3 separate regions of the Homo sapiens genome follow, and regions 2 and 3 are each linked to region 1. Evidence: promoter capture Hi-C in 16 types of primary human blood cells and fetal thymus (Javierre and others, 2016). All regions are on one chromosome and are shown on one strand. Each heading gives the region's core, a stretch centred on a gene start or on the middle of the fragment in contact. The rest is flanking DNA. Distances are from core to core; before and after follow the strand shown.

What was found. Contacts are between HindIII fragments. The CHiCAGO score rates a contact against its expected background, and 5 or more counts as called.
Region 2: a fragment that was not itself captured here is called in contact with the fragment with the promoter of LINC01926 in region 1 in 4 of 17 cell types (activated CD4 T cells, non-activated CD4 T cells, naive CD4 T cells and 1 more); the score reaches 6.3 in activated CD4 T cells.
Region 3: a fragment that was not itself captured here is called in contact with the fragment with the promoter of LINC01926 in region 1 in 8 of 17 cell types (naive CD4 T cells, total CD4 T cells, M2 macrophages and 5 more); the score reaches 8.5 in naive CD4 T cells.

The regions. Positions count from the first base shown.
Region 1 is chr18:58,811,325-58,816,448 of GRCh38, forward strand. It overlaps LINC01926 (long intergenic non-protein coding RNA 1926), which reads left to right and starts at 2,556. Exons shown (of 3, transcript NR_146904.1): 1 at 2,556-2,750. The HindIII fragment of the contact is 11,966 bases long and covers 1,653-5,124 here.
Region 2 is chr18:58,494,961-58,500,084 of GRCh38, forward strand. It overlaps ALPK2 (alpha kinase 2), which reads right to left. Exons shown (of 13, transcript NM_052947.4): 12 at 3,089-3,137. Among named protein-coding and RNA genes, the nearest start is that of MIR3591, 46 kb to the left of the region's middle. The HindIII fragment of the contact is 1,220 bases long and covers 1,516-2,735 here.
Region 3 is chr18:59,082,199-59,087,322 of GRCh38, forward strand. No RefSeq gene overlaps it. Among named protein-coding and RNA genes, the nearest start is that of SEC11C, 55 kb to the right of the region's middle. The HindIII fragment of the contact is 754 bases long and covers 2,133-2,886 here.

The DNA of each region.
Region 1 (5,124 bases), core at 1,306-3,805:
GTCTTCCCTTGTTTCCTTACCATTCCCTGAAAATCCAGCGACAGAGGCCAGTAGCAAAAATGAGGAAAAGTCAGGATGCAAGCAGAGAACTCATGTGGGATTTTAAATTAATTGAGAGTTATTTATATCAGTTTTTATTCCAGAGATTTCCTGGTGTCTTGTTAGCCGAAGATGATGAGTATGCAGTTTGACAATTTTTTTTTTAATGAGCCTGTTTTTTTTCTTTTTTTCTTTTTTAAAGATAGGAGTCTCATTATGTTGCCCAAGGTGGCTTCGAACTCCTGTGCTCAAAGGATCCTCCTGCCTCATCTTGCTAAGTAGCTGGGAAAATGGGCCTATTTTGAAAACAGTTAATTGTACTAATGAAGCTTGATAACCTTATAATAGATTTTCTTTTGAAGTTCTTCTGCCAAAACATGGTGAAATAATAGGCACATTTCTCTGTTAGTCATATTTATAATCCGGGATTCTTTCTGAGCAAATGTCACTCTCCATTCAGGCTGCTGTGGAATATCATCTATCTTTGCAAATATTTACTTTCACACCTCCCATTTCAAGTGAGTTTTCTAACAATTTAAGCCCTTGTCCACCCTTCTTTGGATGATCCACCACACCTGGCCCCACTGCAGATTTCATAATTTTATTTTATATATTTATATATTTATTTATTTATTTATTTTTGAGACAGAGTCTCGCTCTGTTGCCCAGGCTTGAGTGCAGTGGCGGGGTCTTGGCTCACCGCCAGCTCTGCCTCCCAGGTTCACGGCATTCTCCTGCCTCAGCCTCCCGGGTAGCTGGGACTACAGGCGCCCGCCACCACGCCTGGCTATTTTTTTGTATTTTTAGTAGAGACAGGGTTTCGCCATGTTAGCCAGGATGGTTTCGATCTCCTGACCTCGTGATCCATCCGCCTCGGCCTCCCAAAGTGCTGGGATTACAGGCGTGAGCCACCACGCCCGGCTATTTATTTATTTTTTTTCAGAGACAGTCTCGCTCTGTCGCCTAGGCTGGAGTGCAGTGGTGTGATCTCGGCTCATTGCAACCTCCACCTTCCAGGTTCAAGCAATTCTCCTGCCTCAGCCTCCCGCAAAGCTAGGATTACAGGCGCATGCCACCATGCCTGGCTAATTTTTTTGTTTTGTTTTGTTTTGACACAGAGTCTCGCTCTATCGCCCGGGCTGGAGTGCAGTGGCACGATCTCAGCTCACAGCAACCTCTGCCTTCTGGGCTCAAGGGATTCTCCTACCTCAGCCTCCCAAATAGCTGGGATTACAGGTATGCACCACCATCCCTGGCTAATTTTTCTATTTTTAGTAGAGATGGGATTTCACCACGTTGGCCAGGCTTGTCTTGAACTCCTGTCCTCAGGTGATCCACCCACCTCGGCCTCCCAGAGTTCTGGGATTACAGGTGTGAGCCACTACGCCCGGTCAGCATCAGTATTCTTGCGCTATGGGGCCATCATGAAGTGAAATAAGAATGACTTGAACCCAAGCACTGCAATACAGAGACAGCCGATGTGGTAACTGAGAGGGCTCCGATGTGACTCATGAGTGGGGACATCTATGGCATGGAGATGCTGGACAAAGGGAGGAATCCCACCGCAGGTGCAAGGCTTCATCACACTACTCAGAATGGCAGGTGCAACTTAAAGCTTATGAATTGCTTATTTCTGGAATTTTCCATTTAATATTTTTGGACCTTAGTTAACGGAAGGTAACTGAAACCATGGAAAGTGAAATCATGGTTAAGTGGGGCTATGATAAATTGTGACCACCAAAAACAACAGAATTCATAACTGGCACGATGCAGCTATTTCTCCACTAAGGGCCCTGAGTGTTCTTTGAGTGTAAAATTTGTGTTTCTATTTTGGTGGTTATCTAAAAAAAAGCTAGCATCTGTGTGTTGCAGATCATCTGGCTGATTACCGCACAGCTCGAATTCTGCTTCATGATGCCTGCATTCACATTTTGTCTTGGATTCCAGATGTACTGGCACTACTGAGATGCTGAAAGCTCGGGATCCCCTATAACTGTCTTCTTCATCACCAACCCAAGAGTACAGCTGCAGAATTGCAAAGCCAGTTCTTCAGTGTAACATGCATATTTGATGATCGGTGTCCACCAAATTACAGGCTTTTATCTTTTTAATCTTTGGGAGTGAGAGTAGTTGACTTTTAATTTATGAATTTGTATTAAAAGCAAAAATGTCTGGAGAAAAGCGGTAAACTGGAAATTATGATTGGTGTAATTTACAATAGAAATAGGCAATTTCGAATAAAGAGCAGAAAACCATACCTAATTTATGCATGAGGACAGAATGCATGCTGAAATTAAGACAAGATTGACACTGAAAGACTAGGCAGAAAAAAAAAACAGAACAGAAAAAGAAGAGAAGAGTGGTGGAAATGTCAACAGATTCCTAGTGGAAATATTTGCTCACAGCCATCAAGCTGTACAAGTTTGAAAAAGTAAGATCAACAAAATATATTACAAGGATCTTTCTGAACTGGCTCTCAACCTTTTCTTTTTCCCTCATCCCATTCTATTTATACACATCACAGTCCCAAGAATAACACAAGAAATTCTCCAAGTTTCCAAGAAGGGAAGATGGAGTGGAGGGCGCCCACCCTATCTCCAGTGGACATCCCCTGGGCTACTCCTCTCCTGATGAGAAAATGCTCACTTCAGCCAAGTGCAGAATGGTCCCCTTTGTTTTCGTGGGTATCAGTGGAGAATGAGATCCTTCATGTAAGTAAAATTTCACTGTCACTCATTAGGATGGCTAATATCCAAATAAACAGAACAGAAAATAACAACTGGTGAGGATGTTGGGAAATTGGAATCCTTGTACATTGCTGGTGGGAATGTAAAATGGCGCCATTGTTGTAGAAAACAGTAATGACGTTCCTCAAAAACTTAACCCTAAAATTACCATATGATCTAGCAATTATGCTTCAGAGTATGTTCCCAAAAGAAATGAAAGCAGGCACTGATATGGCATGGCTCTGGGTCCCCACCCAAATCTCACCTTGAATTGTAATCCCCACAAGTCCAGGGAGGGACCTGGTAGGAGGTGATTGGATCATGGAACTGGTTTCCCCCATGTTGCTCTCATGACAGTAAGTTCTCACAAGATTCGATGGTATTATAAGGGGCTTTCCCTTCACTCACACTCTCTCCTGCCGCCTTGTGAAGAAGGTGCCTGCTTCCCCTTTGCCTTCCACTATGACCATAAGTTTCCTGAGGCTTCCCCAGCCATGGGGAACTGCGAGTCAATTAAGCCTCTTTTGTTTATAGATTGCCCAGTCTCAGGTAATATATCAGGCAGTATCTTTATAGCAGTGTGAAAACGGACTAATACAGGGACTCAAACAGATACTTGTACTTCCACATTTCTAACAACTAAACTGTGGAAGCAACTTAAGTGTCCACTGATAGACGAATGGAGAAACACAATGTGGAACATACATACAATGGAATAGAGTTCAGCCTTAAAAGAGAAGGTCATTCTTTTTTTTTCTTTCTTTCTTTTTTTTTTTTTTTTTTTGAGACAGGGTCTCGCTCTGTCATCCAGGCTGGAGTGCAGTGGCGTGATCTCGGCTCACTGCAACCTCTGCCTCCCAGGCTCAAGTGGTCCTCCCACCTCAGCCTCCCGAGTAGCTAGGACTATAGGTGTGCACCACTATGCCTAGCTGATTTTTGTATGTTTTTAGTAGAGACAGGGTTTCACAATGTTGCCCAGGCTAATTTTGAACTCCAGAACTCAAGCACTCTGACCACCTCAGCCTCCTGAAGTGCTGGGATTACAGGCATGAGCCACCGCGACTGGCCTAAATTGTCTAGCTTTTAATCTGCCTCATTGCATCTGACAGCTACAAACTACAACCCTTCCCTGTTCCTGAATTTTCTTCCAAAACACATCTGTAATGCCACTGCCATGCCTGCGAAGCACTGATGACTCTTCATCAGAATAGGCAGAAATTCACCTCCCAATCCGACCCCAATCTACCTCCAATTTACCTCATCTCCTGCACCCCCATCCCTAACCCCATGCATGATAATCATAGTCTTTTTTTTTTTTTTTTGAAACAGAGTTTCGCTCTTGTTGCCCAGGCTGGAGTGCAATGGCGCAATCTCTGCTCACTGCAACCTCTGCCTCCCGGATTCAAAGGATTCTTCTGTCTCAGCCTCCCAAGTAGCTGGGATTACAGGCGCATTCCACCATGCTGGCTATTTTTTTGTGTGTTTTTAGTAGAGACAGGATTTCATCATATTGGTCGGGCTGGTCTCGAACTTCTGACCTTGTGATCGCCTTGGTCTCCCAAAGTACTGGGATTACAGGCGTGAGCCACTGCGCCCAGCCTTTTTTTCATGACTTTAATACTCTAAGGAATGGCACAGCTCCAAATCCTCACAAATATACCTCATTCTTTGTAGTATATGTTTCTCTGCCTTATGAAACTGTACGCTCCTCAAGTCCAAATTAATTCCAACGTCACCTTGATTGGTCCCACACTGACCTCTAGCCTAAATTAATCACTGTCTCCTCAGGAGATTCAGCATATTTGTTTCTACGTTGGATGACCTTTGCATAAGGAACCAACCGGCTGTTTGCTCAGAAGGAGGCTGTGGCAGCATAGGCACTTACACTGTCATATTCAACACACTGAATTCTAGATACCTGCCTGGCTGTCTCTTCTGCTGCAGGATCAAGTCTTATTTAGTTTTCTGTCCCAGTGTCTAACACAGTGCCTTGAATGGGGAGACACTCAGCCATCATTTACTAAATTGAAATGAATTGTGAGAATGCATTGCAGATGCACCTGAATTGGGAGTTACCAAAAAGAGAGAAAAGAGGAAATTGTACTGGAGTCAAAGATAAATTTAATCTAATTCATATTTATGATCACAGAGATCATGTCAGCATATGAAACTCTAGTGCATGAATTAGGGCAGCAGACCCCAACCTTTCTGGGACCAGGGACCGGTTTCATGGTTTCATGGAAGACAATTTTTCCACGGACCAGGGGTGGGGAAGATGAAACTGTTCCACCTCACATGATCAGGCATTAGATTCCCATACAGAGCACGCAACCTAGATCCCTCACATGCGCAGTTCACG
Region 2 (5,124 bases), core at 876-3,375, 320 kb before region 1:
GATCTGCCGTTCACTTTGGGGTGCTGACTTCAAGCAGGAAAGACTTCTTGACTCCTGCCAGCAAGCAGGCTGCCCCATGCCCCATGCCCCATGCCCCATGCCTCCTCACCTGTGAAGTGAGGAGGTCGGGCTTGATCACTGGTTTCCACTCCAGAGGGGTTCCCAGGAGCCTCTAAAGAGGTCTCTCAACCACCTCTTATGCTCTGTTTGGAGAAGTTTTACCTTTTCATCAGTTTTTCAAACTGTGATTGTAAGATATATTTCTTTTGGGAAAAAGACTGTGGCTTAAAAAGGTAACGTTTAAAGAAAAGTTTTTAAAAAACAAAAGACAAGAAGATCTAATATCCCTGCCAAAGCTCTCAAACACTTCAGAATCTCCTCCTCTCCCAGCTCCTGCTCCCTGGCCTCTCCTTGGGTGGGAAGGCAATGAGTAAGTAATACTTTATAGACAGCATTCTGCACTGGGCTCCAGCCGTCAGTGCTTCTAATGGGTCTTGGGCAGCTGTCCCGGGCCAGATAAGTCACATTAAAGCTGAGAACAAAACCAAAGGATTGGATTTCTTTTTAAATCAGGAGGGGAAAAAATGTACCACTTGAAGCTCCCAGTCGGTCTGGGTTCCTGGAAGCTGTTGACTTGAATTTAAAAGATGTCTTCAATAATCATGACCATCTTCATTTTTGAAACTTCTTGGGCAGGTTTCTTCTTTGTTTTGGTAGAGAGTTGTTCTAAATAACAGCACGAAATTTGCCTACTCTGGTGTCAGGCTAAGACATGAGGAGCGAAGGGAAACTAATATTTATCTAGCTCACTTCCAGTTTCAGGGGCTAGGTGTAGATTAACTGGGGGAATACTCAGGGCAAGCCGGAGTGTCCCCATGCTGTACATCACTGACTTTAAGAACTTAGTCACATGCCCACAGTCACACAGCTGGTATGACGAGAAGCCAGGATTCAAACTAGGGCTGGCGGATGCTTGCATCTGCAAGGTTCTGCAGAACACATGGAGCCTGGAAAGGAAGGCTCCGTTTGGAAAATCCTTCTGGGGTCCAGAAGCCTCCATAAATAGGGCACCATATAATTTATCTTCTAAATGGGTACACTTGTTCAGGATCAATGCTAAAGCGTATGGGATGTGAGGACATCAGGCATAAAATGGTACCATCATGGGGAAACTGCAATAGACGTTCATCCCCCTCATCAGGTAGGCTAGGCAAATTCCTACGATGCCAAGAAGCGAGGCTACTATCAGGAGAAATGGAAGCAGCAGCATCAGGGTATGAACTGGGTCTCGCTCTAAATCCCTCGTTCCTTCCTCCCCACTACATCATAATCCCTCCTAATGCGCTGTCTTCACAAGCCCAAGAACATACCCAATTCCCTGAAGTGTATGCCAGCCAGGTCTCTGGTGAGCACAGGGGAGAAGCCTGGAGACAGTTCCAACATAAAACTTCATCATCACTGAGCCATCCCAGGGAAAAGGTCCAAACCGCATTCTGGTTCTAAAACCCAACTGGAAGCTTTGTGCAATCGGCGAGAACTTCATGAATCAGACTTACTGACCTGGAGGTTAAAAGAAAGAGCGATCCCCTTCCTACTTTTTCAGATTCCTCTACTTCTCTCTGTCCTTTATTGAAGCTGAAAATTAGCATATTTGTTGGATCGTGGCTGACACTGATGGTCTGAAGTAACCAGAAAGCTCCCACGGATAAGTTGTTCTCAGCCTTGGGAAAGGAAGCTGGATTCATCCCACCACTTTATTTTCTGTGTTTCTGATGCTTTGACATCTTGTGCCTTACTGGCCCTGGAGAGACTTTACTCCTCTCAGGGCTGCCATATTCCTAGAGAGAGTAAATGATCACCTTCCAGAGAGCCTTTCATATATATGCAAACCAACCAATCCAGAGCCACACCCCTAATACCCCCTCTGTGGTCTCTCATACTGGGGCCACTGTCCACCTGCCCTAATCACCCCAGTGCAGGTACCAGACACTAGGGCCAGCCCTATGTCCCAGAGACTGCTGGAAAATGTCAAATTAGCCAATCCTAGGACTGTTTATCCTCCCTCACCTATTCCTTCCCGAATAAACCATAATATTCTTGCCTGCATTTTCCCCTCACTTCCTCTGCCTCCCAACTGGCCCTGCTGCTTCTTAGATGGCCCCTGGTGGCCTGGTGCCCCCTCTTGGCAGCTGCAAGTAACAAACTAGCTTTTCAATGGCAACTATCTCCTGATCTGTTGACCTTACGATACCTCATACTAATAAAACCTACATTTTGAAATAGAAGCCATCCCCTCCAAAAGTCATGAGCTCTCTTTTCCTCCCCCTTACAGATGGTCTTAGTACGTAGGAAGAGCAGGAGTGGGCAAAGGCGATGGTGGTTCCAACACAGAATTGCATCTTCACCAAGAACAACAAATGGCTGGCTTTCTCCTCAGTGGCAGTCAAGTAAAGAAGTGGGAAGGGGCAGCTTGTTAAAAAGATGCCCCAGTAAAATGTGATCATAGCATCATCTGTGTGTGCCTCACACTAAGCAAAGCACCACTCTGTATTAGAAAAATAAAGCCATCATCAAAAACAGGTAACTAATCACAGCTCTGCCAGAGACATTGCCTCCTATGATTATCATCATGGGGGTCTGTGAGCTGCCTAAAATACTTTTTGGAGAAAAATTAATTTAAAATATACAAATTGAATTCACTGCATTCAATTGCAAAAAAAATTTTTTTTCAAAGAAGCTTTTAATAGTGAAGATATTAAATGTAAAAGAACGGAATATTCCCAGTTAAAAGGCATCCAAGTAATGCCAGCATTTTCTCCCCGTGGTACTCCTATTGGTTATTAATCTTGAAATGTGTTTGCAAGAGTTCTCATTTGTTTCAAAGTTAAGAAACAAATGTGCTCCCCTGTGAGAACAAAGTCCATAAATATTTTATGTAAGTGAGAGAAATGAATTCATTCCAAGAACATTCGTCATCCACAGTTAGGACAAGAAATTCACTTTGCCCACCTCAGCCTGACAGTGTCTGCCTGGAAGGTGTCTGTAAGCCCAGTGTTAATTGATGCACACTCCATTTTTTCCTACTCACCCTTTAGCCAGCGTTGCTATGCCAACGTCAGTTAGCTTCATTCCTACACCTACAGGAAGAGAAAGCAAAGATGGGAGTTTGTGTTACTCAGGGCCCCTCAGGAAGTTGGGCCATCTAGCCCCAGGGAAGGGGTAATGACAGCTCATCCTCCTTCTCCTTCCTGCATAAACACTCGAGGCCTCTTTCATATACGCATCCAGCTTTAGGCAGGGACCATGGGGAAGGTGGCAGTTAGGGGGAATCAAGTCTCATGTGAGCAGACAACCCAAGCCCTCTCGGCTCTGGAAATGAAGTCCTCTGCCTGCCTGGCCCACCCACCCCATGACAAGGAGGGAGCTGGCCACTCTGTGAGAAAATCTGAGGCCTGATGCTTGTCCCGTAAGCAATCTCCCCAGAAATACGGTGACTTTGGCTTAGGTCTGGCTCCCCGTTCTTCAATGAAAGTGGAAACCCTTACATGATGGAAAGAAAAGTAGGCACGGCCTGGGATAGTCAATGCCAATAGCAAGAGGGTTTGATATGGTTTGGCCATGTCCCCACCCAAATCTCATCTTGAATGTAGCTCCCATAATTCCCATGTGTGGTGAGAGGGACCCAGTGGGAGATAATTGAATCATGGGGGCAGTTTCCCCCATACTGTTCTCATGGTAGTGAATAAGTCTCAGGAGATTTGATGATTTCATAAGGGGCTTCTCCTTTTCCCTTGGCTCTCATTCTGTCTGTGGCCTGCTGCCATGTAAGACGTGCCTTCCGCCTTCCACCATGATTGTGAGGCCTCCCCAGCCACATGGGACTATGAGTCCATTAGCCTCTTTTTCTTTGTAAATTACCCAGTCTTGGGTATGTCTTTATCGGCAGTGTGAAAATGGACTAACACAGGGCTCAAGGGGCATGTGTTTAGTTCAAAGCCAAACTTCAGACATATGATTTCTCATTTCCATAAAGATCGTTTTTCAATTCAGGACTGAAGGTTTTCTGGGTGGTCAGTGTTAGACCCCGGGAAACAATCCTGAGTTCTATGTAGACACTGAACCAATGGCCTGGCGAAGCAGACATTTGGAACACGTGGTCCTTGGACTCATCCTAACTGCTACCCACTAAACCATGGTGGGGATAGGTGGGGGATATCAAAACCAAAACAGTAGAACAGCTACCTGAGCTTCCCACTCTGGTTCAGCAAAAAGCAATAGGCACCCATTGCAAGCATATGGAACCCTTTTTTGCATGTGCCTTTCCAGCAGGAGGGGTAGGGAGGGTAGCTAGGGAGCCAGGGAGGCAAAGGGAATAGACTATCCCACTGTTTTCCACTGTGAGGGAGGATAAGAGCTGCCATCCCCTTCTGTAGTGGAAAGAGCCACCCTCTCTCACTCTACCCCCAGTCTCAGCCTGCATCCTGAACCTCTCTCAGGTCTAGTGGAAAGTAAAGCACTTCCCTGATGCCCAGAGTGTGGATTCCCTCTTGACCTTTCCAGAATCTGCATGCCCTGACCACGCACCAATTCCATTCCTGTCTCCTTAGGGTGAGGGTTATGGGCACTTGCTCCAACGCAGTGGACCTCTGCCAGGACCTTACCCGTGCAATCTAGTGATGACATTTTATCCCATGGCCCATAGTGCCACCCCACCAGTGTGTCTGCACCTGCTAGATGCCTGGGTCCTGCCTCCTGTGCTCTTGCCCCTGCCTCTTGGGCTCCATGGGCCGGGCTGTGAGCACTGGCATTCCCCACCTCCAGCACGTGACTTGCCCATGGAGGGCCCTGGCAGCCTAGAAACCAGTTTGGGCTGTGGAAAGAAAAAAACTCAGCATCCCCCTAAAGCCAGCCATGAGGATCAGATCTGCTGGCCACCTACTTCCGTGGTTCCCCACCCAAGTGGAGTGCTGTTTCTGAGGCCCAGGAAAAGACAGCTAAAGGATTAATGCTCGGATTCAGCGTTATCTGCTGGGAGCATGGCAAAAACAAAGGACGTGTTGGGATTCAGGCTGGTTAGGCAGACAGAAGCCATGAGGCCTGCTTTTCTGCAGTGCACCTGTGAGC
Region 3 (5,124 bases), core at 1,260-3,759, 270 kb after region 1:
AGTCACCCCACAATCCCATGGTTCCTCTACGTCAGCGATTCTGAAACTATTTGGACTCGAGATTTCTTTATATCTTCAACATTATCTGGGACCCGAAGAGCCTTTGTTTATTATGTGGAATATATCTATTGATATTTACTATACTAGAAATTAGAAATGGAAAAAATGGGATAATATTTATAAATTCCTTTAAATATAATAAATTATACATTTCATGCTAACATATTTTTATGGAAAATACCAGTTATTAATTTTGAGACAGAGTCTTGCTCTGTTGCCCAGGCTGGAGTGCAGTGGTGCAATCTTGGCTCACTACAACCTCCATCTCCTGGGTTCAAGCGATTCTCATGTCTCAGCCTCCCGAGTAGCTGGGATTACAGGCACATGCCACCATGCCCAGCTAATTTTTATATATATATATTTTTTGAGACAGAGTCTCCCTCTATTGCCCAGGCTGGAGTGCAGTGGAGCAATCTCGGCTCACTGCAACCTCCACCTCCTGGGTTCAAGCAATTCTCCTGCTTCAGCCTCCCAAGTAGCTGGGATTACAGTCACGTGCCACCACACCTGGCTAGTTTTTGTATTTTTAGTAGAGACGGGGCTTCGCCATATTGGTCAGGCTGGTCTCAAACTCCTGACCTTGTGATCTGCCCACCTTGGCCTCCTAAAGTGCTGGGATTACAGGTGTGAGCCACCACACCCGGCTAATTTTTATATTTTTAGTGGAGACAGGGTTTTGCCATGTTGGCCAGGTTGGTCTTGAACTCCTGATCTCAGGTGATCAGCCCGCCTCAGCCTCCCAAAAGTGCTGGGATTACAGGTATGACCCACTGCGCCTGGCCTCTTTTTTATTTTTTTTTTAAGCTCAGGGTAGGGCATATATTTTCAAAACAAAAAATGCTAGCGAGAAGACTGTCATTGTGCTACAGTTTCAGAAATCTCTTTAATAGCTGGCTAAATAGAAGACATAGCTGATCTTACATCCGCCACTGCTGTCAGTCTGTTGCAGTATCACATATCATGTAGCTTCTGGAAAACTCCAGCATACACTCACTCATAAAGGAATGAGAAGGGAAAAAAGCAAGCATCTTGGTTTTATTCTGAAAATAGTGTAGACCTTATGGATTCCCTGGAAGTCTTTCAGGAACTCCTGGAGGGTACCCAGATCACACTTTGAGAATCGCCGCTCTAAGCCAATATGCAGATTAATGGAATGAATAACCGTGGTGTATTTCCCACCTAAAAGACAGGCTCTGTGCTGAAGACCGACACTGACAGCTTTCGGCCAGGAACTTATCTTTCCCAGCAACAAAGAACAGGGTAAGATACACATGAAAGTTTTAGGGGATCATGAAAAGAAGGAAAAAAAATTCAGAGACAAGACAATTGGAATACCCTTGACTGAGACTCAAAAAGAAAAATGAAACTTTTAGTACATCATATTGAAAATCCCATGGATTCAAAAAGAAGGCAGCATGTATGTAAGCCAAAGTGACGGCATAAGGAGTTCTTTGTTAGAAAACAGGGAAAGAGAAGCAAGAGAGCAGGCAGGCAGAAGGGCAGCCAGGACCATCAGCTCGGGTGCGTGAAATGAGCACGGGGAAAGAAAGGGGTTTCTTTTCTGTTTTGTTTTAAGTAGAATCGTAATTGGGATGGGAAGGGACTTTAGAGATAATCTATTCAAGGACATCATTTTGTAGTGAGGCAACTGTGTTGTCTCCTGCCCGAGTTCACCCACCTGCTCTTCCTACCAGACCACGTGGGCAGTGCACTGGAACAAAATCTCTCTATCAGATTATCTCTCCTCTGTTTGTCTCCCTCTCCACCTCTGTGTTCATATGCATAACACACACACACACACACACACACACACACACACACACACACACACACACACACGTTTTCTTTCCAAATTTCCTCTTAACAAAGTCTAAAGAATAATCACTGTTTCTTGCCTCTATGATTTTTTTTGACCTCCTCTGAACCCCACACATTGACGAAGTGCCAGCCATAGCAATAGTTTCAGACCCGTGGAGTCAGCTGTGCTGTTGCCAACCTCCATCACCTGTCCGCCTTTATCCTGGGCTCTGTTCCTGTGGATTTGAACAAATAGATGAGCGGCATCGGAAGAAAGCTTTAGCTGCATGTGTTTGGGTGACCACGAGAGGGCAGCACGTAAGAGACCAGTGTCGGCCCCGCTGCCTTCTTGAACACACCGGAAGCCTCCTAGGAAAACTGCAGATTTTGTCAGACTGTGAAGTAGAAGAGTCAAAGAGCCTTCATTGCTTCCTTTTAAATGACCAGCCTACTAAGGAATTTAGAATGCCCAAGTAAGGTTTTCACTTAATCCTTTAAGAAATACATCTAATATTTCTAATCTAATCTATCATTTTCAATGGAAAACAGTATTTTTTTTTTCAGTGATTCTCACTGCTTTCTTTCTGAGGAACTTGAAATGAATCTTATGTTTTATTTATTTTTCAATTTCTAAGGTAAGGACTGCTGGTCAGACTGGACTTCAAAATTCCTGGATCCTTAAGACCCAATGCATCAGACAAATGTCCTGCTGGATCCTCCCACCGTCAGCTAAGGGACAGTGCTAGCTCTCTGGTGAGGGAGATCCGTGTGGAGGTCTCTGGCATTCCTGGGTCAGTGGATGGCTGGGAGAACTGCTCAGCTCCAGGTTCCAGGGCCTCTGATCAAAGCCAACCCTGGGGGCCAGCCAGAGATATCGCAAACCTAAGGACTAACGTGGAATCTACACCTGCCTTGGGAGTAAAGAACAAGCAGGGTGCTTTCCGGGATGGCTTTGGGATGAGATGCCCAAGACTTAGTGCCCCTGGCATTGCTCAGCTCTCAAGCTGACTTCCACAGCACCCCCATGGAAGCTTCATTGGTGCATCTTTGGGTCTTGAATGCAGTGCTACAATATTGACGAGGAAAGTCTCCTTGGAACCACAGGAAGACAAAAGTGCAGAGTGATTTGCTGGCCTTGGCTAGGACAGGGTCCAGGGTGCAGCCAAGGGAGGGTGATCTAAGCCAGCCATTCTCCTAGTGTGGCTCCTGGACTATGCGCAACAGCATCACCTGGGAGCTTGTTAGAAACACTGGTTCTCAGTTCCCATGCAGACGTCTTGCATCAGAAAATCTGGGGCTGGGGCCCAGCAATCAGTGTCTCCAAAGGCCCTGAGATCATTCTATTCAAGTTTGGGAACCAGCAACACAGCATTTAAGTGGAAATGTTTATAGTTGCAAAGCCAGGTGAAGCTTGAAATGCATCATAGAGGAAATGAGGACAAGAATGTAGAAAAAGAGTAAAAACAGAGAGGAAAAAAATTTACAAGCCATCATAGAGTGAAAGAGCTTCCCCTGCTGCCTGGGGGTGTGGGAAATGAGAGTTGCACCTGCTCACAAGTATGACCAGCAATTTAATATCTATCTAGAGCTTTCAACCCTGCCATGTCAAATTTATTTAGCTAAAAACAACTCTTGTGGTGGTGACCTTTTATTCAGCTAATATTACTCCCCTCAATGCCTCCAAAGCACACAGAGAAATTGGAGGGCTGATGAAAATCTTTAAAGTCTACTAAATACTAAAGCCTTCCCAAACACTGTGTACTTTTCAGAGAGAGTTTCTTTTTATTGGAATTTCAGATTATTGAAAGGTTATCTGTCTCCTGTTCCTAGAGGGATTAAAATAAAACAAAAGCAAGAAGAACACATTGTGATGTGTGCTTTCCTCGCTGAACTGGTGGTGCTTATCTGACTGCAGTGATGGGCAGCCAGTGGGAAGATGCCAAAGTCCTTCCAGAGAATTTCCCCAGGAACTTGGGAGGCTGAATCACCAGAATGAGAAAGTTCTCTGGCATTCTGGGGATGCATTTCCTTCCACATTGCTGCATCCCTGTATGCTGGAGTTGCATGTGACTGCCCCATGCCTCAGTTTCCTTTTCTGGAAAATGACAGCTTCAGGCTCTTCATGCTTCTGGCAGCCATGATTCCCCTCTGCCTAGCTCTATTCTTTTTCTCTCATTACCTTCCTGGCTCTTTTCTGTGTTACATCGCCATTCCTTGGGTTTCTTTTCTCTGATCTATATATTTTGTTCTGTTTCATAATTTTACATTAATTTTTATTTAATGCCACAAGCCGCTTACCTGCTTTGAGCTCCACAAAACCTATACTTTGAGGTAGAGTAGAATTGGAAGTTAGAAAACCAGATTCTGAATCTTTAAGCAAATCACTTTAGTTGAACCTCAGTTTTCCTACCTGTAAAGTGCTTGCCATGTGCCAAACAGAATTGTTTCATTTAATACACAAAACTCATAGAAATAGATACTAAACAATCTTTCCAAGTAGATATTGTTAGTATCCCATTTTATAGTTGAGAAAAATGAGGCTCAGAGGGGTTGAGTTCCCCAAGATCACACAGCTCATAAATGGCAGAGCTGAGATTTCAATCAGGCAGTCTGACCCCAGAGGCTGCACCCTGACTACTTATTATTAACAGTGTCTGTCCCTGCCTTGCAGTTTCGTTACAGAAGGAATTGAGACAACATCTGCAAGAACCTTTTGAAAAACGACCACTATGCAAAGGGAAGGAAGCGTGCTATACTTTTCCATTCATAGTGGAAGTAGAGGACCCCCACTTTTCATGATCCCTGTTCAGTCATAGCTTTTGTTCAAGTTGTCTGGTCGAGTTGTTTAAAGACAGTGGGCAAATAAAAGGGAACAAAATGCAGAACAATTTTAAGAGTCGGAAGCACAAAATCATGACAGAAACAAGATGAGCCTGAAGTGGAGGCTGGTAAGGCCCGGGAGATGGAATAGGCCCCCCTTTCTTACTGTAGTCACAGACATCCTCTTCCTAAACCCCAGAATAACAACTCAGCAACTGCTATGATGCTGTTGGCACTGATTGGAATCCAACCCCAGGGCTTTGCCTCAGCAACTGGAGTTTTTTCTTCTACTTATAATTAACTCTTCTTCTCCATTCTCACCTCTGTTCTCACTCTCTAATTCCCTCCTCTGTTTTTTAGAGATAGGGTCTTGCTCTGTTGTCCAGGCTGGAGGGCAGTAGTGCCATCATAGCTCACTACAGTCTCTAACTCCTGGCTGCAAGCTGG